Linked DNA regions of Homo sapiens: all the other regions are linked to region 2. Evidence: promoter capture Hi-C in 16 types of primary human blood cells and fetal thymus (Javierre and others, 2016). All regions are on one chromosome and are shown on one strand. Each heading gives the region's core, a stretch centred on a gene start or on the middle of the fragment in contact. The rest is flanking DNA. Distances are from core to core; before and after follow the strand shown.

Region 1 (2,700 bases), core at 182-2,681, 460 kb before region 2:
GCAGCCTCTGCCTCCTGGGTTCAAGCAATTCTCATGCCTCAGCCTCCTGAGTAGCTGGGATTACAGGCATGCTGCGCCACCATGCCTGGCTAATTATATTGTTTCTTGAATAACAGATGTCAAGATCTTAAAGGAATATAGCTTTCGTGTGGTGGCATTGATGTCTCGTCTTTATAAAAGATAGAATTTACCAAGCAATCTAGCATTAAATAACTCTTAAGTGATTTTAGTTTAAGCTTCAAAGCTGTAGTCTTTTCTAAGCAGTCACTGTTATTTATTTCTTCATACATTTTCTGCTTTTCCATTCAGATTGTAAATCCTCACTTATTGAAAGATCTTACCGAGCGGGGCCTATGGCATGAAGAGATGAAAAACCAGATTATTGCATGCAATGGCTCTATTCAGGTATAGAATGAAAATGAAGTGTGCTCTGCAGGGGCTGAGTTGGACATTGTGGTACCTCCTCACTCATGCTAGACAATGGAGAGAATGACTTCATTGTGTTCATCTAGGTTTTGCTTGTGTAGCTCTGTTCACCTCTGCATTGTTGTGCTAGGATTGTACACATCTTTACATAACCCTTACCATCTTGTTTTTATGCAATAATATAAAAAAGTAGTTCTCAATTTTTCTGCATCTTAGAATCAACTGGGGAGCTTTTAAAATCCTGAAGCTTAGGTTGCATTCCTTACCAATTAAATGTCTAGGAACAGGAACCAGACATCAATTTTTTTTTTTTTTTTTTTTTTTTGAGACGAAGTCTCTGTCGCCCAGGCTGGAGTGCAGTGGTGGAATCATGGCTCACTGCAACCTCTGCCTCCTAGGTTCAAGCGATTCTCCTGCCTCAGCCTCCCAAGTAGCTGGGATTACAGGTGCCTGCCACCACGCCCGGCTGTTTTTTGTATTTTTAGTAGAGACAGGGTTTCACCATATTGGCCAGGCTCCTGACCTCAGGTGATCCGCCTGCCTTGGCCTCCCAGGGTGCTAGGATTACATGCATGAGCCACCGTGCCTGGCCTCAGACATCAATAATTTTTAAAGATTCTTTTGGTGATTCCAAAGTATATCAAAATTTGGGGGATCATAGATAGAAAGACTGAAATTAAGAGAGTCAAGCTTAATTAAAAATCATGGTTGACGACTGATAGTCCAAAAGACAGAGTCACAAATCGTGTAAATATTTGCAACTAAGAGTCAAGAGGCATTTATTTGCAGATAGAGGTGTCTGGCTAAATGTTGGTCTGCTTAGCAACACAGATGAAGAGTCCTATAACAGTTCCATATTTAATGACAGAAACTGTAGCATTAGCCAGTCTGTGTGTTTTAATGAAAGTTAACCCTAGGCCTAAGAAAACCTGATTTTGGATTCCAAAGGGAGTTTGAAATCCTAGCTTATTTAAAGGGTTTTATCTCATTGCTTCCCTTGGTCCCTGTGAATTACAGCCCTTATTTTTTGTGTTTTCTGCAAAACTCAAGGGTCATTTATTGCTGCTTAGCTCTGACTTTTCCTTTCTTTAAGTGCCTCTAGAAGAATGAATGTTTGGGTCATAAATCAATTAAAAAATTAAAAAATTGGTTTATGACCAACAAAAAAGGGATGCTGAAATTACTATCACCAGATTGATATTTGGTTGGTTAGATGGGGGTTTTGTTCAACTTTCTAAATAGTCTTGGTAAACTTGATAAGGATCATATCATATGATACTGAATGGTAAGGTCAGATCTGGCAGGAAGTAAAATGAAGATCAAAGCTTGTGTCACTATTCTATTAATCATACACTGCTTTCTTTAACTGGAGTAAAGTAAACATTGGGTTTTCCTTCTTTAGAGCATACCAGAAATTCCTGATGACCTGAAGCAACTTTATAAAACTGTGTGGGAAATCTCTCAGAAAACTGTTCTCAAGATGGCAGCTGAGAGAGGTGCTTTCATTGATCAAAGCCAATCTTTGAACATCCACATTGCTGAGCCTAACTATGGCAAACTCACTAGTATGCACTTCTACGGCTGGAAGCAGGTTGGTAGAGAATATCAAGGAGTACTTAATTGCCAGCTTGAGATATTTTGGCATTGGAATGATTTTATGTTTTAGCCACCTATTAAATATTATCACCTAGAAGTTCTTTAAGTTCAAATCCAGAACGTTAAAACCAACCCATGGTTTTTGTACCAGAACAGGGTCTTGCCTTGGATTTTCTTGTTTCTGTTAGGTTTATTTCCTTCTTAGGTTTGAAACCTTGTAGTTACCTGTGATGCTTTCCTTCCTTTACTGTCCGTACAATTACCAAGTTGTGTTGATTGTTCCTTTGTATTATTTCTTAAATATCTTCCTTCCTTTTCTGCTGCTGTTATTCTAAACTGACCTTATTGCTTCTAGGATCTCTGCTCCCAGCCATTTTGTGTGCATTACCACCATTCCTCAGATAAAACTTTGCACACGTCAACCCGCTATTCAAAAACATCCATTGTTTTCTCACTTTATAAAGTGAAAGCCAGCTTACTTAGCTAGTCGTTGCCAGCTGTAAAGTCTGGTGATTTTGGATTATGTTCTTATTCCCTGATAATGTATTGGGTATTTAAGTAGAATTATAAATTTGTTTTTTAATTTAACATTTATTGAACATCTAGTATGTGCCAGGACTGAGGATACTGAATAGAAGATGATGATCTTTATCTTTGAAGTCTTATAGTCTGTTGTTA
Region 2 (2,700 bases), core at 79-2,578:
TATTCAGGTTTCCCCACTTAGATTGTTACATATTATATGATATGGTAACACCTGAATGAGGCAATGGAGGGTGAATACATCAATAAACAGAGATGAACAAGTGGTAGAGCTCAGCTGCTGGCTGTGCACAGCAGTAGCTATCTTTGTCTCATCAAACGTGGCCAAGTGAAACCCCTAACCTTGTTTTATCCATAGTTGTCTTGTTGACTATTTATGTTGGGCTGGATGGACACCTGGGAGTCATAGCTTAAACCCAAAACTTACCACACACGTACTACATGATCTTGGCTAGAATATTTAATCTAAGTTATACAAACTGTGTTGTATGGAATGGATGTTTGTCTTATATTACAAATGGAGAAATACACTCAGATTATGAATACTACACTTTTAACATAGTACTGGCACATACTGTGTTAATAATAAAGTGCTTAACTTTCTAAAGGATAAAGCTTTCTTGTTTGGAACATCTTGGTTATCAGGAAGAGGGAGTTAGTTGTATTAAAGAACCATAACAACTTATTGGGGAGGGGGGGTCATCTATAAGGTAACCCTAAGATTTTCCTTGTAGTAATTTAATCTATTAACTGAACCAAAGTGAATAGGATCCAGGGTAAATTTAGAGAAGGTAAGGATTATATTTATTTATAGATAATTTATAATCACCTGTAAAATGTGATAATGTTATTCTCTAATGGTTTTATTTTACTGAACTTACTAACGTACTTCATGAATCACAAGAATGCTGAATTTATGTTTTGTCTATGCAATATGCTGAGCATATAAAATGTGATGTTTGTTTTCAAGAAGTTCTGGTTTCAACATTTAGTAACAGCACACAGAGATAAGTCATTCTTTCCTCTGTTAATCGTTCTTTCTGTGGAAATTGTTTACTGTAATGAGTATATATATCTTCACTCAAGTGACTTGTGACCACAGCTATGGATCACAATCTTCCTATAAGGCACTTGAGTGAATACCATAAACTCATACAGTACTGGAATTGTCGATTTAGTCCCTACAGGAGATTTCAGGAAACTGCAAAAGAGGTAATTAACTTAACCTGGGCATGGGGTTGGGTGAGGAAGAGAGCAGAACACAAGTCCCTAAGGAAGGAATTCACGAGCTGATCCTTCAACAATGAATAGAAACTTGTAAGGAGGATGAAAAGTAGCACAGTATTAGAAGTCATTTTTCTGATCCTGCCATACCACCAAGCTGAGAATATCCCTAGGTTTTCCCAGCACCACAAAGAGGAACTAATCTTATAGGACTGCACCATTCTCTTACATCATCTATACATTAATAGGCAAGAAGTCTCACCTGTGATGCTGGGTCCAGCTTACAACCACACAATGGAAACCCCTGCCTCCTTCCTCCTTGTGGGTATCCCAGGACTGCAATCTTCACATCTTTGGCTGGCTATCTCACTGAGTGCCATGTACATCACAGCCCTGTTAGGAAACACCCTCATCGTGACTGCAATCTGGATGGATTCCACTCGGCATGAGCCCATGTATTGCTTTCTGTGTGTTCTGGCTGCTGTGGACATTGTTATGGCCTCCTCCGTGGTACCCAAGATGGTGAGCATCTTCTGCTCGGGAGACAGCTCCATCAGCTTTAGTGCTTGTTTCACTCAGATGTTTTTTGTCCACTTAGCCACAGCTGTGGAGACGGGGCTGCTGCTGACCATGGCTTTTGACCGCTATGTAGCCATCTGCAAGCCTCTACACTACAAGAGAATTCTCACGCCTCAAGTGATGCTGGGAATGAGTATGGCCGTCACCATCAGAGCTGTCACATTCATGACTCCACTGAGTTGGATGATGAATCATCTACCTTTCTGTGGCTCCAATGTGGTTGTCCACTCCTACTGTAAGCACATAGCTTTGGCCAGGTTAGCATGTGCTGACCCCGTGCCCAGCAGTCTCTACAGTCTGATTGGTTCCTCTCTTATGGTGGGCTCTGATGTGGCCTTCATTGCTGCCTCCTATATCTTAATTCTCAGGGCAGTATTTGATCTCTCCTCAAAGACTGCTCAGTTGAAAGCATTAAGCACATGTGGCTCCCATGTGGGGGTTATGGCTTTGTACTATCTACCTGGGATGGCATCCATCTATGCGGCCTGGTTGGGGCAGGATATAGTGCCCTTGCACACCCAAGTGCTGCTAGCTGACCTGTACGTGATCATCCCAGCCACTTTAAATCCCATCATCTATGGCATGAGGACCAAACAATTGCTGGAGGGAATATGGAGTTATCTGATGCACTTCCTCTTTGACCACTCCAACCTGGGTTCATGAACACAATATCTGTTCAGATCCAGAGCATTCTAGCCAACTTCAAAGATGCCTCAGAGATCTGTGGAGCTGGATTGGTTTACCTGGTACTATAAGGAAATCTGAGATGAAGCTATAAAGGATATCTTTGTGTAACTTTTAAATTTCTACCAATAATATGAATGAAATGTTTCTAATTTTCTGACATTTTTAATGGGTTAATATGATAGTGTCTGAATCAGAGTAAGTTTGGTATAGAATACAGCTCTGTAATTTTTCCTTCTATAGCTTCTGACCTATATTTCCTACCTAATATCCTACCATCCCCTCTGCTGAAGAGACCAACTGTTTGGTATCTTCCCCTTAACCTGACTGATATTCTCAGAACTGTTCTTTCCTCCAAGTGATTACATGGAAGAAG
Region 3 (2,700 bases), core at 80-2,579, 400 kb after region 2:
AGGATAAGAAAGGGAAAGTACACACAGAAATAGAAACGGGAAAGGGGCTTAGGGGGCCCGGGTAGTGGAGGAAATGCGGAAAAGTAGCTCAAAGCATACAAACTTGCAGTTATGTAGGAAGAATAAGTCTAGAGATCTAATATACAGCATGACCACAGTTCATAATATTGTAGAATGGGAACTCTTTTCAGGTGAGGGATAAATCAATGAGATAAAGCAGTGAGTTAATAATATTGTAGAAATGGGGACTCTTTTTAAGTGAGGGATAAACCAATATGAGCAAGAATTAAAACCACAGAAATTGTATACCGAAAATTTGCCAAGAGAGTAGAGCTTAGGTGTTCTTAGCATACACATGCACGTGTGTGCATGCACACACACACACACAGGCACATAGTAATGACCATTTCACTATGTATATGTCTATGTATATGCATATATATATATAAACATCATTCTGTATACCTTAAATATACACAGTTAAAAATTAATAGGGATTACAAACAGAAATATTCCTGCCTGTCCTAACCTCAAATCTATTGGCCAGTCTACAACTGAAGTTTTCTAAACATCGCAATCTGCACATAGGGGACTTGCACATAAAGCAGGGAGAAAGAGAATTCTAAAGAGTAGTGATCCACTTTGTTCTTTGCATTCTATGTGAGAATTTAAGAAAATATGATTTATTTCAGGACTGAAAGAATTAAAGGAGAAAACATGGAATATTTTTCTGGCATGGGGTAAAATAAACTACTTCTCCACTGTGGCCACAGTTTTCTTTTCTTTTTCTTTTTTTCTCTTTCTTTCTTTTTCTTTCTTTTCCTTCCTTCCTTTCTTTTCTTTTCTTTCTTTCTTTCTTTCTTTCTTTCTTTCTTTCTTTCTTTCTTTCATTTCTCTCTCTCTGTTTCTTTCTTTCTCTCCTCCCTCTCTCTCACTCTGTGTGTGTGTGTGTTCTTTTTATTTCGATGTTAATACCTATATCATTTTTATGAGCTCAACTGTACAACAGGAGGTCAAAAAATTTTTCTGAGTGAGGAGAAAGAAAAAATAAAGTCAGCTAGTGATATGGAAGACTGGAGAGAAAAATGTTGCTTAGGGGTGAAGAAAAATAAATGCTCTAAACACATACTCTGCTGGGTGTGAAGAATTTGATGGGTAGCTGACTGCTTTATTTAAGACGAGGGTCTCAAATGAAAGCTTCATTCACATTGCCTAGGCTAGAGAAGAGTACCAGGTTAGGTTCTGACTCATAGAAGATGGAGGATTCCTGTACTTGGGTAAAAGTAGAAAAAGAGACAAATCCTTCTCATTACATGGAGAAGAGGGCTTTGTGCTTTCTTTTGTTCCTCAGATACAGATTCTAAATCAAGTCCTCTTTGGAATTCTAAGTTGTGCCATCTAAGAACTTTCAGTCTTCACGGTATGAAAGTGAGATAAGAATCAGTCAAGGGATTTTTAAAATAAAGCTTTTTATTAAATATAATGGAGATAATAAAAAGAAACAGCTAGCTAGCTGGAGCCTTGTGATACGAGTTTGAGACCACATTTGGAAATATTTTTACTCTAGGATGAGGCTAAGTCTTATCTTAATCTTTCAAAAGGTCAGAGACTAAGGGTCCAGAAGGAGGGTTGAGGGAATTACTGAGATGTTGCTACAGAGAGATGTTGCTGAAGTCTATGAGGCCCAGACTCTAAGGGACAAGGTAAGTAAATAATTTTCTCAGGGGCAGTTAATGGAACTAGACAGGGTTAAAATAAAGACCTAGGTAACAGAAGGGGCAGATAATCTCATAATGCTCAGCTGCTGTACCAAGTGCCATCAACACAGTATGATACAGCAAGGGCAACACTGGTTCAGCACAGGCAAGGAGGCTATTACAATAACAATTGCTGAGGGAAAGTAAAGCCAGATGTTAATATCATATTTTGAAACACTCAGAAGAGCTTGGTTGTTTCTAAGAGGCACTGATAGTGAATATTTAAGGCCTAAATTCTGGATTGTCATGAGTTCACAGAAGTAGGTGCAAGTGGGTCAGAAAATTAAGAACCACTTAATATTTTGATTGATGATCTTTTAAAAATGATATTAAAAGCATCGTTTGGAAACAGAAATCAATCAATCAAAAAAATCAATAGAAATAAAGTGGAAAAGTACCTCTTTTACTGAAAACATGTAATAGATAACTGTTAAATGCATTGTTCTCATTTTGTGGAAGAGCAGAAAGGGAAATGTCTTTAATGGACTTTCGTAGTTATATTGTGATGTTATGGCCTAAAGATTTATTTTCAAACTATTTAAACTCTTATTTCACAAACACACACACACACACACACACACACACACACACACACACACGCATATACACTCACACACTATATATATAGTTTTTTTACCGTGAATTTTTTTTTAGGTCAGGAATAGTTGCTATACTAAACAGCTCAAAACTGTGTTGGTTAAATAGCAGCTCAATAAAGCATGCTGGGATTATGGATTCTGGTATTATGGATTCTGTTTCTTATGTTCATGCTCTCTTTTCATATAGGGGTATTTATCTTGTATTATTAAAATATTAAATATTTAAAATGTTTAAATATTATAAATCTTTAAATAAAAATGCAGCTGAATAGAAATTATGTTGAGTCCATGGGATCAATTCGATTGTCATGAATGAAAAGATAGCCTAGAAGCAATAACTGATT
Region 4 (2,700 bases), core at 19-2,518, 440 kb before region 2:
TTATCTAATCACTCTCCATTGTATGTATCAAAACATCACCATGTACCCCACAAATATGTACAATTATCTGTGTCACTAAAAAAGTTTAAAAATTACATAGAGTTTACATATAATCTATGCACATCCTCCCATATACTTTAAATTGTTTCCAGATTACTTGTAACACCTAGTACAATGTAAATGCTATGTAAATAGTTGTTATACCATTTTTTTTTTTTTTTTGAGACGGAGTCTCACTCTGTCGCCCAGGCTGGAGTGCAGTGGTGCAATCTCGGCTCACTGCAACCTCCGCCTCCTGGGTTCTTGCCATTCTCCTGCCTCAGCCTCCCGAGTAGCTGGGACTACAGGCGCCTGCCAGCACGCCCAGCTAATTTTTTGTATTTTTAGTAGAGACGGGTTTTCACTGTGTTAGCCAGGATGGTCTCCATCTCCTGACCTTGTGATCCGCCCACCTCGGCCTCCCAAAGTGCTGGGATTACAGGCGTGAGCCACCGCACCCAGCTCTTATACTGTATTTTAAATTTTGTATTTTTTTATTGTTGTATTCTTGATTTTTAAATTTCTTTTCGACTATTTTTGATCTGCAGTTGGTTGAACCTACAGATGTCAGACCCATGGATATAGAGGGCTGCATGCATAATACTATTTATTAACCCAGGTTATAGCTGAAGACACTGAGATTTAGAGAGGTTAACTAATGTTCTTAAAGTATCATAGGTATACCTTTAAATGATAGGGCTGGGATATGACTTAGTGACTTAGGTATGTCAATGGTAAAAGGTGGAGTTCAGCTCCAATCTCAGGTTTACCTCTCTCCAAATCCCCCATAAATTTATTGTTGCCTCACCGTGGCAGCCTGCAGTAGTCTCCAGTTGGGTTGCAGCCTGCTGTGTCTTTGGTTTCGCCTCTGAAGAGCTAAGGCTGGAGGTCAGGTCAGTGCCCAACTCCAAGGCACTATGAGGCTGATTTATGAGGGATGGAAAATTAGACCTGTGGCTCCAGGGGAGAAGCCTGAGGAGATTCCCAGAGGGTAGTCATTCCAAAGGGCACTCAAAAGGAGGAAACAAGGAGAAACCCAGAAGAACCCATCTGTCCCTCAGAGAGGACCCCAGGAGAGGGCTGGGTGGAGGTGACAGTATCCAAATTTTTTTTTTTTTTTTTTTTTTTTTGAGACAGAGTCTCACTCTGTTGCCTAGGCTGGAGTGCAGTGGTGCAATCTTGATCTCGGCTCACTGCAACCTCCACCTCTTGGGTTCAAGCAATTCTCCTGCCTCAGCCTCCCGAGTGGCTGGGATTACAGGTGCCTGCCACCATGCCCAGCTAATTTTTGTATTTTTAGTAAAGACAGGGTTTCATCATGTTGGCCAGGCTGGTCTTGAACTCCTGACCTGAAGTGATCCACCTGCCTCAGCCTCCCAAAGTGCTGGGATTACAGGTGTGAGCCACTGTGCCAGGCCCTGTACTAACATTTTTTTCTCTATGGCTCTTGGCATTTTTCACAGAGCAATCACTTCTGCTAAGGGATTTCCCCTCTTTTACAGATGAGCCATTAGAGGCTCAGGAAGAGCAAGTGAGGTTTCAGAACAAGTCCCATCCCAGGGGCATAAACAGGCATAATCTGTATATCACTGACTAGGATGACCTGGGGCTAAGCTGAGGGAAGGGGCTCTTGCAATTTGAAGGTTAAATGGACACTTAGGGGGTACCCAAAGTCAGGAAAGAGCTCTGGGGTGACAATAGGAGAGCCCAGTGGTCAAGACATGGATCTGATTTAGGGTCTGTGTGTGTGTGTGTGTGTATGTGCATGCAAGCTGCGGTTGGTGAGGAATTTACTTCTGGGTGGTTCAGAAATTAGGGCAGAGAGTGCAGTGTGTACTCAGCTGTGAAAAACTGGGAACCACAGAGGCAGGGGCTGGCTCCTCCAGGGAGGCATCCAGTTTGTCCTCTGGAATTTGGAAATAGGACTAAAAAAGCTCCTCTTTTTCTCTTTTTTTATACCTTCTTTGGATCTTCTTTTTGTGATTTCATTTACTCTCCTTTGTTGGTTTATTAGTTGTTCCTCTTTGTTGTCTTATTTCCTCTTGGTTGCTTTAGGGTTTATAGTACATATCTTTAACTTACCACAGTCTATCTACAAGTACTATTAAGTCTTTCACAAATAGTGTGAGATTTTTACAACACAACGTAGCTCTTGTGTCCATTTTGCTTTCTCATTTTTATACAGTTACTCATTCCTTTATTTTTTTCTTCACATCTTTACTGAGCACTTACTTTGTGCTAGGCCATATGCTGGATGCATGGATACAACAATAAGTAACATTTGTGTTCCCTGAGTGAGTCTGCATTCTACTGAGTAGGCTAGTAATGACAATCAATGGTCAAAATACAGCATGTAACAGTATACTCAACAAATGCATCCCAAAATACTATCTGCTTTTAACATCTACCAAGTCCAGGAAGGACCAATGCCAGGTCAGTTGAGGTCATGTCTACTCTTGAGCTATTCTCCATTCCTGTGACTTGGTGAGGTGAAAAGCCATCAGTTATAAACTAGGGAGAGAAAGAAAAGATAGGGAAAAGATTAAGGGACAAATCTGACTAACTCCCATTTCCCACCCTGGGCGTCCAATTTGAAGGAGGCACAGGTGGTGGGGGTGGTGTTGGGGCAACCTCTAATTTCAATGTTTGGGGCTTTTATAG
Region 5 (2,700 bases), core at 146-2,645, 380 kb before region 2:
AGAATAATACGTATTTGTTACTTTATGATCTTGTAATATTTAGATAATTTGGCATATTATAGTACCTACCAGATATAGTGCTTAACAGATTTCAACTTTTATTTATGTATTTTTAAAAATAGAGTTGGGGGTCTCACTGTTGCCCAGCCTAATCAAGAACTCCTGGGCTCAAGTGATCTTGCCTCGGCCTTCCAACGTGCTAGGATTATAGGAGTGAGCCACCATGCCTGACGTCAACTTTTAAATGTGCATATAAATAATTACCAAGAAGTAATTTTAAATTGAAATGTGTAATAATATTTCAGCAAGTTATGTTAACAACATGTATGAGAACCTCACATCCACTATAATTCTAAATTTATTTTATTAGATTATAAGAACTAGTTAGAAACTTATTAAAACATTTTTAAAATGAAAATCAATCTCTATATTTAAGGAAATCAAAACTGTAATTATTTATAAACACTTTGAATTTTTTATGAAGACTTATTAACTAGGTTGTAATGGCTACTTAAAAATGACCGGTAACATTTTTTAGAAAGTTTTAAAAACTGAACTTAAAATATAAGAAATAATAAGATTTTTAAGTATATTTTATTTCTGAGTCAACTGTTGACTTTAAAAAGGGCCGACAACCGTGCAGTGCAGCTTTCTGTAAGAACCTCAATGAACACACATGAGAAAATGTAGCTTAAAAAAAGGTTCACTTTTTAAAGGACATTACTGATGTCCTAAAATATACTAGGTATATATTGTTGCTTGGGTGTTTGAAGTTGTTTGGATGAAATAAACTTGGGTTCAGTCACAGAATACAAGATTGTCTACTGATTTCAGATGATAATGTGTCTGGAGAAGATGAGCCTTCTCAAAGGCAATTGCAGAAAGACAAGATAATTTTGAGGGCAACATTTTTTTTTTCTAGGATGGACGAAAACGGAAAAAAAGTAGTAACAATGAAAAAGATGTTTATAACATTTAAAAAACCCTCAAAACTGACTATAAAGGAAAACCATTTTAACAAAAGCTAAAACTACATGCATTTCAAACTTATGCAGTGTATTTAAGTCACACTGGCCCCTTAGATGTCCCTACAAGCGCTGCAGACGTCGGGGAGGCCTGTGGAGTGACCGGTCCTCACCTCCTCCGGCTCTCAGTGCCCCATCTGCCAGCTGTCACAGTGCTGGTACACTCTAACAAGACCTCCCTGGGGCTCAGGGATAAACAGAGAGAAACACAGTAATACTATGATACTAGAAATACTGGCTTTTAAAGTATGGTACTGTTTATTATCTTACGACAGGAAGTCCTGTCGTATCTGAGATATGGCTCTGAAAGAATTCTTGGTCTAGGTATTTCCCATCTCTAGAGGGCGGTGATATATTTGAAGCAATCACTTAATTACAAGAGCTCTCTCCTCCTGTACCCTGCCACATTTATTGTCAATAACTCAGAATTTCCTAAGTGATAAGGGATGGCTCTCTGTGTCTTCTGACCCCTCAGAGAGCTCACAGTGGTGTCTTTGGATGCCTGCATCCTGTCCTGCCTCCTCCCCGCCTTACCGTGGGGCTCACACAGTCAATGGCCATAGAAGAGCCACTGCAGTCCCACCTGGATTCATAGCACCAGGAAAGGAGCAGGCCTCTTTCAGCCAGCCAAAGAAACACTTACCCCTTATTAGGGAAGCTGCACAACAGACTAAAACCGGATCCAGGAAACAGTGGACAGGGGACTCAGGTGGGTGTGGAGTGTGCGCCTCACTCCCCAGGAAAGCAGCGCTAGGGCCCTTTCCCTCAGAACTCTGTGGCGTGCATTGCTTCTGGCCAAGGAGGGGAAAGTTCTTTCTGGCTCTCCTCAAAGTCTTATTACAGACCTTCCTGGAATTGCTTATACATCTTCTTGGCCCCTTTCAGCTTCACTCTGGTGATACCAGTAGGTCACTGACCCAGAACATGGCCCCTGAACTCTGGTCTTGAGGTGGTGGTGGTGGCGATGGGCTTTTTGGGGTCAACTGACTTTTACTTCCTTCCAGGCAAGGTCACTGAACATGTGAAAATATGCTGGCTTTCCACCTAGTGAGGAGCTACATTATCTCTGAGTGAGAGCAGGACATTTCACCTTTGAAATGGCAAGTGGAAAGAACAGGTGGAGGTAATCAAGGACACACACACACACACACACACACACACACACACACACACACACAGGCTAATGAGGAACAGGAGGAAAAGGGATGGTGGGCAAACAGTGGAGGGAAGTGAAGGGGTGGGTGATGAGGAGGTGAAAGGAAAAAAAGGATCTAAAGGGAAAACTAGAACTGAAAGAAGGCAGGATGCAAAGGGAGAACAGCAGAGGGTGGTTGCCGCAAACACAAATCCTTCCCACACTTACCACACACACAGGCCTTTCTCTGCATTTGCTTCCCCAAGCTCTTCATGGTCATCTTCTTCCTGTGGCTGAGGGCCTTGTCCCAGGTCTTCATCACCTCGCCCCAGGGTATCTGGGAGGACCTCTCCATGGATGGGTCCTTCAGGAGGAACCTGAGTTTCTTCTCTATGTCAGCTCCTCCAGATTCTGTAGCAGTGGCTCACACAGGTGCTTTGGCCATGCCTTTCCAAGGTTGGCCATAGGCACTAGAGTCTAGAGGGAACAGAAGAAACAGCAGAATGATTTAGTAGAGAAGTCACCCTCTCTCTAGTCAGA
Region 6 (2,712 bases), core at 69-2,568, 420 kb before region 2:
TTTTTGTATAGTGAGAAATAGGGTCTAGTTTCATTCTTTCACATATGGATATCCAACTTTCCCAGCACTGTTTATTCAAGAGACTGTCCTTCAATGTATATTCTTGGCACTTTTGTTGGAAATCATTGGCTGTAAACACATGCATGTATTTCTGGATTCTCTATTCTGTTTTATTGTTCTATGTGTCTGTTTTTATTCCAATAGCATGCTGCTTTGGTTAATATAGCTTTGTGATATATTCTGAAGTCAGCTAGTGTGAAACTTTCGGCTTTGTTGTTTTTGCTCAGGATTGCTTTGGCTATTTAGGCTCCTTTTTGGTTCCAGAATAGTTTTAGTGTTGTTTTTTCTATTTCTGTCAAAACTGACATTGGTATTTTGATAGTGATTGCCTTGAATCTGTGGTTTTTTTGGGCAGTGTGGTCATCTTTTTTTTTTTTTTTTTTTTTTTTTTTTAGATGGAGTCTCACTCCCGTTGCTCAGGCTGGAGTGCAGTGGCACAATCTTGGCTCACTGCAACCTCCACCTCTCAGGTTCAAGCGATTCTCCTTCCTCAGCCTCCTGAGTAGCTGGGATTACAGGTGTGTGCCACCATGCCTGGCTAACTTTGTATTTTTAATAGAGATGGGGTTTCACCATGTTGGCCAGGCTGGTCTTGAACTCCTGACCTCAGGTGATCCACCTGCCTCGGCTTCCCAAAGTGTTAGGATTACAGGTGTGAGCCACCGTGCCCGGCCAGTATAGTCATCTTAAGGACATCAATTATTTTGATTTAAGAACATAGGCTCTCTTTCCATTTGTTTGTGTCCTCTTTAATTTATTTCATCAGTGTTTTGTAGTTTTCCTTGTTTTTTGCCTCACGATTAAATTTATTCCTAGGTATTTTATTTTATTTTTAAAAGCTTGTTTTCTTTTTTAATTGGCATATAATAATAGTACATATTTATGGAATCCCAAGTTATGTTTTGATACATACAGTGTAGACTTTTTCTTCCACTAATTTTGGTTTTGGTTTTCTCTTGCTTTTCTCATTCCTTGAGGTGCATTGTTAGATTATTTGAATTCTTTCCACTTTTTTGATGTAGGCATTTATTGCTATAAACTACCATTTAGCACTGCTTTTGCTGTATCCCATAGATTTTGGTATGTTGTGTTTTGATTTTCATTTGTTTCAAGAAATTTTTTGATTTCCTTTTAAATTTCTTTTTTGATCCAATGGCCATTCAGGGACATGTTGTTTAATTTCCATATATTTGTGCAGTTTCCAACATTCCTCTTGTTATTAACTTCTGGTTTTATTTTATTGTGGTCTGAGAAGGTACTTCATATGATTTTGATATTTAAAAATTTGTGGAGACTTGTTTTGTGTGCTAACATATGGTTTATCCTGGAGCATGTTCCATATGCTGATGAGAAGAATGTGTGTTTTGTAGCTGTTGGATGAAATGTCCTGTAAATTTTTGTTAGGTATATTTGGTATAATGTGCAGTTTTAATTCAATGTTTCTTTGTTAATTTTCTGTCTAGATCAGGGGTGTCCAATTTCTTGGCTTCCCTAAGGCACATTGGAAAAAGAATTGTCTTGAGCCACACATAAAATACAGTAACACTAACGAATAGCTGATGAGCTTAAAATAAATTGCAAAAGCTCTCATTATGTTTTAAGAAAGTTTATGAATTTGTGTTGAGCTGCATTCAAAGCCATCCTGGGCTGCATGTGGCCTGCAGGCCATAGGTTGAACAAGCTTGGTCTAGATAATCTGTTTAATGCTGAGAGTGGGGTGTTGAAGTTCACAACTCTTATTGTACTGGAGTCTACTTCTTTCTTTACATCTAATAATATTTGCTTTATATATCTGGGTGCTCTGATGTTGGGTGCATATATGTTTAGAATTGTTATATTCTTTTGCCAAATTGATCCCTTTATCATTATATAATGATTGTCTTTATCTCTTTTTATTGTTTTTGACTTAAAGTCTGTCTTATCTCTTATATGTACAGCTATTCCTGCTTGCCTTTGGTTTTCATTTGCATGGACTTTTTTCATCCCTTTAGTTTAAATCTATATGTGTCTTTATACATAAGGTGAGTTTCTTTTAGGAAGCATATAGTTGGGTCATGTTTTTTAATTCATTTAGCCAGTCTTTGTCTTTTATTTGGAAAGTTTAATCTGTTTGTATTCAAGGTTATTATTGATACATGATTTTATTAAATAATTTCTGGTGGCTGCATTGGGCTTGGGAGGCCAGTCCCTAGGCACATAGTGCGTACGTATGTGTGGGTGTCAGCTGTGGTGGTAGAGGCAGGTTGGGTGGGCCTGATCTCAGGCCCTGGGAAAGTGTTTGGGTGCCAAAGGTGATGAACTGGGTTGGGTGATTCCCATACCCAAAGATGACATGCTTAGGCACTGGGAAGGAGGAGTGGAGCCAGGCCTGGCTCCTTAGGCCCCTTAGTAGTGTGTGTAGGCACTGGCTGTGTTAGGCAGAGGCAGGTGATCCCTAGGCTCCTGGTGGTATGTTGGGGTGGAGGTGTCACTGCCACCCTGCTACTGGGGAGCACAGGGTTGCTTTCAGTGGCAGCAGCAGTAGGCAGGGAGCTGGGGAGCATGCACTTTGCTTGTGCTTTGGCAGCAGTAGGCAGGGAGCTGGGGAGCATGCACTTTGCTTGTGCTTTGGCAGCAGTAGGCAGGGAGCTGGGGAGCATGCACTTTGCTTGT
Region 7 (2,700 bases), core at 12-2,511, 400 kb before region 2:
GAGCACTTCCTTACTTTCTGTTACTACAAGATATTCCAGGCTCATCTTGTACTTTCCCGGCTCAAACTCTGTAATCTGGTATTTTTCTAAGAAACCCTGATTCCTTTTAGCAGAGAATTGTGTATAAAAACAAACCAAGACCTGGAATAGGTCTGTTCATTGCCAGAGTGTTGTTATTTTTAGGCCCTGTCATACATATACACACATGTGTGTGTAGTATATATATTATGTAAATATGCACACACACACATGCAAATCCATTCATCTATCTACCTACCTACTTACCTACCTATCTTTCTTAAAAACCATGAGTTCATACTGATATGACCAGTTCCAATCCAACACTCTAGAGTTCATTTTAACCTTCTCTCTTTCCATATATGTAATTTCCTTCTCCAACCGTGAAAAACCTGGTTTCAGTTACCCACAGTATATTTACTTATTTGCTTAATCCTAGAATACACAGAATGTAGTTTCAGAATTGTTAACTCATGCTGGTGTGGGAAACAAATCTATTAAACAGAGTTCAATATTTGCTACTGTCTTTTTGCCCTAGCCTGAGAATACAGAGGCAAAGTACTGCTTCAAAACTTCTGTTATCACCCCCTACCCGTACTGTGTTTTGTCATTCACTTAACCTACAGTTCGGTACACTTGCTTCCATATGTATTCAATGCTAATGTTTCCTCCTTTTATCCTTGTTGATTGTATTTACTGAAAAACTGAGTACATGAAACATTAACATGGTTGTAAAAGTCAGAACAGATCTGTACAAAAACATGAACTCAGAGAAGTGTCACTGCCCTCCATCTTCTCTACCTTGCTCCCACCATCTTATTCTTTTCACCCATCAGGCTAAAAAAAGACATCAGAGAAAAATATATCCTAATATGTTGAGTTTATTCGGGAGTAAGCAAAAGGATTATAATCTGGGAAGCACAGCTGTAGCAAGCCATAGGTACAGGTACATCAAGCCAAAGGTAAAGGGAAATTTTTACTGGCAAGGAGAAGCTATGTAAGCTGCTTGGAGACAGAGTTCATTGGTTCTGGAGGCTCAAAGCTAGAATTAGCATCAGTTCATTGGTGGAGATGCCACTGCTAGGCATCGGCCTAGCATCTTATCAGAATTGCTACAGTCCTAAAGAATGTATAGTGATAAACCTGGTCATAGAAATATGTGCATGCATGTAAAATGTAAAATGCATGTAAAATGTAGATCATGAAAAGCATGAGATGTATAAAAGATGAAGGAATTTCTCGTGGAGTTATTTTAGAAAGTCCTTGAAATAGTCCTTATCTCAGATGTGCAAGCATGAGCTGTGCTCCTTTGTGTGTTCTGGCTCCAGTTTGCTCGGGTCTGACAAAAGTGACTTATTTTGCTATCTGCAACTTTAGTCACTCCATTTCCACCCACTCCTGTATGGAACCAATCTCATTAGTTTCTGGGTTTCCTTTCCTAAGTTTCTTTTTGTATAGTTGTGCAGACAAATATATATTTTCTTATTCCCCTTTCTTTCTTGCACAAAACGTGGCATACCATAAACACTTTCTCACACTTTGCTTTTTAAATTTAACAGCATATCTTGGGAGCCATTCTATATCAGTTTATAGATGTCATCCTCATTCATTTTTATAGCTGCAGACTATTCCATTCGATGATGTACCATAGTTCATTCAACCATTTTCCTATGTAAAGTCATTTTGGTTGTTTCTAATATTTTTCAATTATAAACAATGCTACAATGAAAATCCTTAAACATATGTATTTTTGTATATATTTGAATATGTATTACCAGGATAAATTATAAAAAGGGGGAAAAGCATGTGCCATTTTGTTTGATATCATCAAATTCTCCCCCATTAAGGTTGTACTAATTTCCATTCCCATCAGAAATGCTTGAGCATCTACTTTCTTCAAGCCTTGCCAACAGAACGTGTTAGTGTATGTTTACATTTTTGCCAATCTGCTAGGTGAGAGATAATATCTCAGTGTTATTTTAATTTGCATTTCTCTTATTATAGTTGAGGCTGAATGTTTTTTCACATGTTTACGGGACATTTTAATTCTTTTTTCAGTCAATGGTCTGTTTATGTCTTTGACTATTTGACCATTTTTATATCAGGTTTTTGAAACTTCTATCGAGTAGAAAAAGTTATTTATATATTAGCGATATTACATATGTATCTGTGTTATATATTACCGATCTTTTCTCTCAGTGTTTAATTTATTTTGGGATTTTTTTTTTTTTTTCTGCGACAGAGTCTTGCTCTGTTGCCCAGGCTAGAGGGTAGTGGTACAGGCTCGGCTCACTGCAACCTCCCCCTCCCAGGTTCAAGCGATTCTCCTGCCTCAGTCTTCTGAGTAGCTGGGATTACAGGTGCCCGCCACCACGCCCGGCTAATTTTTGAATTTTTAGTAGAGACGGGGTTTCACCACGTTGGCCAGGCTGGTCTTAAACTCCTGACTTCAGGTGATCTGCCTACCTTGGCCTCCCAATGTGCTGGGATTACAGGCGTGAGCCACAGCACCCGGCCAGGACTTTTCTTTTTTCTTTTTTTTTTTGAATAAAATAATTTTATTTTTGTATAATAAAATAATTTTATTTTTGTATAATAAAATAATTTTATTTTTATATAATACAATTTATCAGTCTTTTATTGTTTTGGATGAGTTCACTTCCATTAAATCCAGGGAAGTGA

Evidence for each region. The method cuts DNA at HindIII sites, captures the fragments that hold promoters and counts their contacts. A CHiCAGO score of 5 or more calls a contact.
Region 1: a fragment that was not itself captured here is called in contact with the fragment with the promoter of OR52I1 in region 2 in 2 of 17 cell types (M1 macrophages and M2 macrophages); the score reaches 8.9 in M1 macrophages.
Region 3: a contact is called between a fragment that was not itself captured here and the fragment with the promoter of OR52I1 in region 2, in 2 of 17 cell types (megakaryocytes and erythroblasts). The highest score is 6.5, in megakaryocytes.
Region 4: a contact is called between a fragment that was not itself captured here and the fragment with the promoter of OR52I1 in region 2, in 2 of 17 cell types (M0 macrophages and M1 macrophages). The highest score is 5.4, in M0 macrophages.
Region 5: a contact is called between a fragment that was not itself captured here and the fragment with the promoter of OR52I1 in region 2, in 10 of 17 cell types (M1 macrophages, M0 macrophages, monocytes and 7 more). The highest score is 8.4, in M1 macrophages.
Region 6: a contact is called between a fragment that was not itself captured here and the fragment with the promoter of OR52I1 in region 2, in 14 of 17 cell types (M1 macrophages, M2 macrophages, megakaryocytes and 11 more). The highest score is 15.1, in M1 macrophages.
Region 7: a fragment that was not itself captured here is called in contact with the fragment with the promoter of OR52I1 in region 2 in 6 of 17 cell types (M1 macrophages, M2 macrophages, M0 macrophages and 3 more); the score reaches 7.7 in M1 macrophages.

The regions. Positions count from the first base shown.
Region 1 is chr11:4,133,254-4,135,953 of GRCh38, forward strand. It overlaps RRM1 (ribonucleotide reductase catalytic subunit M1), which reads left to right. Exons shown (of 19, transcript NM_001033.5): 17 at 310-405; 18 at 1,829-2,017. Among named protein-coding and RNA genes, the nearest start is that of RRM1, 40 kb to the left of the region's middle. The HindIII fragment of the contact is 635 bases long and covers 1,115-1,749 here.
Region 2 is chr11:4,592,711-4,595,410 of GRCh38, forward strand. OR52I1 (olfactory receptor family 52 subfamily I member 1) reads left to right here and starts at 1,329. Exons shown (of 1, transcript NM_001005169.1): 1 at 1,329-2,303. The coding sequence starts at 1,329. The coding sequence ends at 2,303. It overlaps OR52I2 (olfactory receptor family 52 subfamily I member 2), which reads left to right. Exons shown (of 2, transcript NM_001405760.1): 2 at 1-630. The HindIII fragment of the contact is 4,139 bases long and covers 451-2,700 here.
Region 3 is chr11:4,995,881-4,998,580 of GRCh38, forward strand. It overlaps OR51L1 (olfactory receptor family 51 subfamily L member 1), which reads left to right. Exons shown (of 3, transcript NM_001004755.2): 2 at 1,602-1,703. Among named protein-coding and RNA genes, the nearest start is that of OR51L1, 2.4 kb to the left of the region's middle. The HindIII fragment of the contact is 269 bases long and covers 1,196-1,464 here.
Region 4 is chr11:4,150,208-4,152,907 of GRCh38, forward strand. No RefSeq gene overlaps it. Among named protein-coding and RNA genes, the nearest start is that of LINC02749, 36 kb to the right of the region's middle. The HindIII fragment of the contact is 5,252 bases long and covers 1-2,700 here.
Region 5 is chr11:4,212,628-4,215,327 of GRCh38, forward strand. No RefSeq gene overlaps it. Among named protein-coding and RNA genes, the nearest start is that of SSU72L5, 19 kb to the right of the region's middle. The HindIII fragment of the contact is 2,918 bases long and covers 1-2,700 here.
Region 6 is chr11:4,176,634-4,179,345 of GRCh38, forward strand. No RefSeq gene overlaps it. Among named protein-coding and RNA genes, the nearest start is that of LINC02749, 9.2 kb to the right of the region's middle. RefSeq lists enhancers at 2,107-2,634, 2,635-2,712. The HindIII fragment of the contact is 842 bases long and covers 898-1,739 here.
Region 7 is chr11:4,195,670-4,198,369 of GRCh38, forward strand. All of the region lies in intron 1 of LINC02749 (long intergenic non-protein coding RNA 2749), which reads left to right. Among named protein-coding and RNA genes, the nearest start is that of LINC02749, 9.9 kb to the left of the region's middle. The HindIII fragment of the contact is 3,403 bases long and covers 1-2,700 here.